Regions from separate parts of the Homo sapiens genome. Here region 2 is linked to region 1. Evidence: promoter capture Hi-C in human tissues and cell types (Jung and others, 2019). All regions are on one chromosome and are shown on one strand. The core of a region is centred on a gene start or on the middle of the fragment in contact, and the rest is flanking DNA. Distances in the headings are between cores, read along the strand shown.

Evidence for each region. Contacts are between HindIII fragments. The study calls those that stand out against the background at their distance.
Region 2: a fragment that was not itself captured here is called in contact with the fragment with the promoter of GFAP in region 1 in 1 of the 25 tissues and cell types used here (aorta).

Annotation. Positions count from the first base shown.
Region 1 is chr17:44,914,250-44,917,231 of GRCh38, forward strand. GFAP (glial fibrillary acidic protein) reads right to left here and starts at 1,251. Exons shown (of 9, transcript NM_002055.5): 1 at 777-1,251. The coding sequence starts at 1,237. The HindIII fragment of the contact is 9,658 bases long and covers 1-2,982 here.
Region 2 is chr17:46,052,654-46,055,399 of GRCh38, forward strand. All of the region lies in intron 6 of KANSL1 (KAT8 regulatory NSL complex subunit 1), which reads right to left. Among named protein-coding and RNA genes, the nearest start is that of STH, 55 kb to the left of the region's middle. The HindIII fragment of the contact is 5,613 bases long and covers 1-2,746 here.

The DNA of each region.
Region 1 (2,982 bases), core at 1-2,500:
CTGGAGGATGAGCAGATGTGGGCTTTTGCCTTAACTCATTACTAAGGTGCCTTATCAGGGTTGGTGCACCTGCTTCTGCTCACACAGGCGCATCCACAAGCATACACTCACTGTTGCACACACACACACACACACGCACATGTCCTCCTGCACTTGAAGGCACACATGCATGTCCTGTCAGCTCAGTGAAGCGCCATGCCCCTGGGGATTCCTCTGATCCCAGGTAACCACCTTTTGAAATGAATTTTATTATGACCACCGCTTCACAGCTGTGCAAGTCAAAGTAACTTGATGGGGGTCACAAGCTGGTGGCAGGCAGTCACCTGTGCTTTGCGCCCAGACCTGCCTGCTCTTTCCCTCACTTTCTTCACCCCAGAATCCAATCTCCCTCATGGACATCAACCTTCTCCGCTTCCAACTCCTCCTTTATATGGACACAGGCTCAGAATAGGTGAGCTCGCTGCCCACAGTCACAAAGCCCAGCCATGAATGAAACACAGGGGCCCCGCTGCTCCTGCACTGCTTTCCCCAGTAGGGAGGTGCTGAGGGGACCCTGGACTCCTGGCAGAAGGCATGCGGGCATCAGATCCCCGGGGCCCTGGGCCTGTTTCTGGTCCCTCCCATCATGTTGGGGGGCAAGGATAGTGCCCCATCAAGAGGTAGGGAGGCCCAGGGAGCAGGGAGGTTCGGCCCCTCCCTGAGACTTCTCGGGCACTCCTTCTTGGGGATTCAGCCCCTTCTGCTCACAAGGCCCCCCTTCCCCATCCCCTCCTCACTTCTGCCTCACAGTGGCCAGGTCCTGTGCCAGATTGTCCCTCTCAACCTCCAGCCGGGCGCTGTTGGCGGTGAGTTGATCGAGCCGCAGCCGCAGCTCTCGCAGCTCAGCCTGGTAGACGTCTGCCAGCTTGGTGGGCTCCTTGGCCCGCAGCTGGTTCAGCTCAGCAGCCAGCGCCTTGTTTTGCTGTTCCAGGAAGCGAACCTTCTCGATGTAGCTGGCAAAGCGGTCATTGAGCTCCATCATCTCTGCCCGCTCACTGGCCCGGGTCTCCTTGAAGCCAGCATTGAGTGCCCCAGCCAGGGAGAAATCCACCCGGGTCGGGAGTGGAGGGGGCATTCGAGCCAGGGAGAGGCGGGTGCCAGGACCCAGACGGCGGCCAGGAGCCAGGCCCCCCACCATCATCTCCCCTGAGGAGACGTAGGAGCGGCGAGCAGCGGAGGTGATGCGTCTCCTCTCCATCCTGCTCTGGCTCTGCTCGCTCCTGGGATGCGAGGGCTTTATGAAGGAGTGGGCTAGACTGGCGATGCCCGGGTGCCCCTGGCAACACCCCCTGGCATAGCCTGAGGGGGTGGGGTTGGGCCGCAGCCCAGCTATGGGGAGAGCTCCCCTCACCCCACTGAGGTCACTGTGCCCAGAGGCAGAGCTTCCTGGGCACGCCAACTCCTGCATGAGGCAGGTGGTACCTGGAGCCAGACCATGGGTCTGGGGCCCTGACCGCTGAAGCAAGAGGACCCTCTCTCTAGGAAGGTGGGTCAAGAAAGGGTTGGTTGGACCATGATGAATACTTACAATTATTATGCATCAATTAAAAAGGAAGGAAAGGGCTGAGTGGGGTGGCTCATGCTTGTAATCCCAGCACTTTGGGAGGCTGAGGCTGGAGGATTGCTTGAGCCCAGTAGGTTGAGGCTGCAGTGAGCTGTGTTTGCGCCACTCCAGCCTGGGCAACAGAGAGAGACCTTGTCTCACAAAAAAAAAAAAAAAAAAGGGAAGGAAGGGCTGTACCAGATGACCTCTGACCTGCTTTCCAACTTTTTGATTTCATAACCCAGGCATTATCTCACTCAGCTGTAAGTGCCTGCAAGGTGCTGGGAATTTGGCGAAGAATGAACCTGTTCTGTACCCTCAAGGGCCACCTCATTTCCTACTAGGCCTCATTCCCAGCAGACTCCTGGAGTCCTTCCCTTGAACACAGATGTCCCACATTCCTGCTCTCTGCCCATTCATTCCCTGGAGTTCTGGGGCTGGGGGCTGGGATTGGACACCAGCCCTTTGTCTAAGGGTCAATCATGGCCTCTATGTGGCAGTGGAGGTCCTGATAGGGCAAGAGGGGGCCGGCACTCTCTTGCCTTATCAGGACTTTAGCCCCTGGATCTGTCCCTCCAGGTCACCCCTTCCTTGTCTGGCCTCCCTGTGCCTCTCTCCCAGAGACCAGGCCTTGACAGCTCCACAAAGCCGTTACACATGAGCTGGCTGTGCTGGCTCGTCTTTATTCCTGCAGCGCCCCGTTTCCCTGGCCACCCCTCCGTCTCCCACTGGAGATTTATTTCCTCGAGTTCCCACACATCAGCCTGGAGAGATGGGAAGAACCTCTGGGGATGGATGGGTTTGGAAACGCTGGAGCCACTGGGCCCAACTAGGAGCCTGAGACCTGGGCCCTGTTGTCCCTGGAGACTTCAGGTCCATCTACGCCCTCCACTCTGGTCCCACAGGGTCAGAACCCTGCCCAGTCCCCTCACCCATTTGTGTCCTTGGACTTCTGGGAAGCAGACAGCCCTCCTCTCCCCCCCTGCCACCCACTGTCCATGCCTGGGCATCCCCTGATCCCCTTTCCTGGGCACAGGCTGAATAGAGCCTTGTTCTCCACCGCCGGTGGCGCCACACAGCAAGGGCAGCCCCTAGGGGGCTGTGCTGCTTTTATCCCAAGATGCCAGGCTGTCAGGCTGGGGTGCAATGCAAGCCCCCTGCTCAATGGGCTTCTCGGAAGGCATTTGAGGGGGGCTGGGGTGCGGCGGGAAGCAGGCACTGTGCCCACCCCGAACATTGTGTCTGTGCCAAGGTGAGTCATTCACTGGGCATGAAGAGGAGGCCCTGGGGGGCGGCCAGCCCAATGCTGCCAGGTCTGCTTGCAGACAAGGCCTGGCTGTCTGCCTCCTCCCCAGCTCACAGAGCCAGCTCAGGCCCCCGAGCCTCTGTCAGAGCAGCGT
Region 2 (2,746 bases), core at 141-2,640, 1.1 Mb after region 1:
AATAGATGTGGCTAGGCGTGGTGGCTCACAACTGTAATCCCAAAACTTTGAGGTGGGAGAGAGGATTGCTTGAAGCCAGGAGTCTGAGACTAGCCTGGGCAACACAGTAAGACTCCATCTCTTAAAATAAAATTTAAAATTAAAAAAAAAAAAAAAAAAAATTTAGCCCAGCATGGTATTGCATGCCTTTAGTCCCAGCTACTCAGGAGGCTGAGGGAGAAGAATCGCTTAAGCCCAGGAGTTCAGGTTATAGTGAGCCATGATTGCACCACTGCACTGCAGCCTGGGAAAAAGAGTAAGATCCTGTCTCCAAAAAAAAAAAAAAAAAAAAAAAAAAAAAAAAAAAAAAAAAGGCTGCGCATGGTGGCTCACGCCTGTAATCCCAGTACTTTGGGAGGCCAAGGTGGGTGGATAACCTGAGGTCAGGAGTTCGAGACCAGCCTGGCCAACATGGTGAAACCCCGTCTCTACTAAAAATACAAAAAACTGGGCATGGTGGTGGGCACCTGTAATCCCAGCTACTGGAGAGGCTGGTAAGAGAATCACTTGAACCTGGGAGGCAGAGGTTGCAGTGAGCTGAGATTGCACCACTGCACTCCAGCCTGGGGAACAAGAGCAAAACTCCGTCTCCAAAAAAATTTAAAAATTTAAAAAAATAAAATAAAGGGTAGAAATTCTACTTATAACTTGACAAAAGGGTAATGTGCACACATGTAACTTAAACAGTAATCTCACTTTTAAATTAAAAACTGTAAAGTACTAATAGAACCCGAGGAGTATATAAAAATATATTTAATACTTATTTTTTTTTTGAGACAAGAGTCTTGCTCTGTCACCCAGGCTGGAGTGCAGTGGCGCAAGTCTGCCTTCCAGGTTCACACCATTCTCCTGCCTCAGCCTCTCAAGTAGCTGGGACTACAGGCGCCCACCACCACACCCAGCTAATATTTTTGTATTTTTTTAGTAGAGACAGGGTTTCACCATTGTTAGCCAGGATGGTCTTGATCTCCTGACCTCGTGATCTGCCCGCCTCGGCCTCCCAAATGCTGGGATTATAGGCATGAGCCACCGCACCCGGCCAAAGATATATTTAATACTTATTAAAGGATACATTTTGGAAAATTTTTGAAAGAAAACTTGAATTCATACCCATGTTGCACAAATCCACACCAAGAATCTATCCTGCAGACAAACTTAAGTGTACACACGCACACGCTCTTCCACTGAAACAAGATGCCAAATCATCTGCATGAATTCATTTAAGTTAAAAAACAACAAGAACACATACAATATTGTGTTTTACAATAAGAAAACAAATTTTTAAAAATATCACAACAGATGGTGTGCATGTGTAGCCCTAGCTATTTGGGAGGCTGAGGTGGCTCACTTGAGCCCAGGAGTGAGGAGCTATAGTGATCATGTCCACTGCACTCCAGGCCTGGGAGACAGAGTGAGTCAGTCTCTTAAAAGAAAAAAAAAACAAGGATCTCCTGGGCTCAAGAGATTCTTCTGCCTTAGCCTACCAAGTAGCTGGGATTGCAGGCATGCACCACCACGCCCAGCTAATCTTTTATATTTTTAGTAGAGACGGGGTTTCACCACGTTGGCCAGGCTGGTCTCAAACTCCTGACCTCAGATGATCCACCCGTATCAGCTTCCCAAAGTGCTGGGATTACAGGCGTGAGCCATCGCGACCGGTCCCAGTCATGAAATCCTATTGGCAGAATCCAACCACTTCATACCACCTCAACTACACTCAATCTAGTCCAAGTCACTATCTTTTCTCAAATGGGTTTCTTCAAGCCTCCTAACTGATCCTCCTCCTACTGGTTCTTACTTCCAAATCAATCAACACAGTAATCAGTGTAAATCTTGTTTTAAAATCTCAATCACATCATACCAACCTCATAATCTTCCAAATGACTTCTCATCTCACGAGGAATAGAAACCAAACTTCTTGCATGGTTCCCACAAGGTCCTATAGTATTTGTCGCCTCTATCCCCTCTCTCTGACTTCACCTCATTTTTTTGTTACTCTCCTAGCTGACACTACCAGTTACTCTGATTTCCTTGCTATATTTCTCCAAGATAGCAGGCAACCTTCCAGATCACAGGCCTCTGCACTTGGCTCTTCAACCACTAATTCCATGGTCATTCTCTCACATCGTGTCTTTTTCTTTAAATGTCAGTATTCAAAGTAACTTTTTTTTTTTTTTTGAGATGGAGTCTCGCTGTCGCCCAGGCTGGAGTGCAGTGGTGGGATCTCAGCTCACTGCAAGCTCCGCCTCCTAGCTTCATGCCATTCTCCTATCTCAGCCTCCCGAGTAGCTGGGACTATAGGCGCCCGCCACAACACCTGACTAATGTTTGTATTTTTTGTAGAGACAGGGTTTCACGGTGTTAGCCAGGATGGTCTCGATCTCCTGACCTCGTGATCCGCCTGCCTCAGCTTCCCAAAGTGCTGGGATTACAGACGTGAGCCACCGTGTCCGGCCCAAAGTAAGTTTTATTTAGAAATACAAGTGAAAGGCCAGGCGCGGTGGCTCACGCCTGTATTCCCAGCACTTTGGGAAGCCAAGGCAGGTGGATCACCTGAGGTTAGGAGTTCAAGACCAGCCTGACCAACATGGTGAAACCTCGTCTCTACTAAAAATACAAAAAATTAGCCGGGCATGGTGGCGGGCGCCTGTAATCCCAGCTACTCGGGAGGCTGAGGCAGAAGAATCGCTTGAACCCAGGAGGCAGA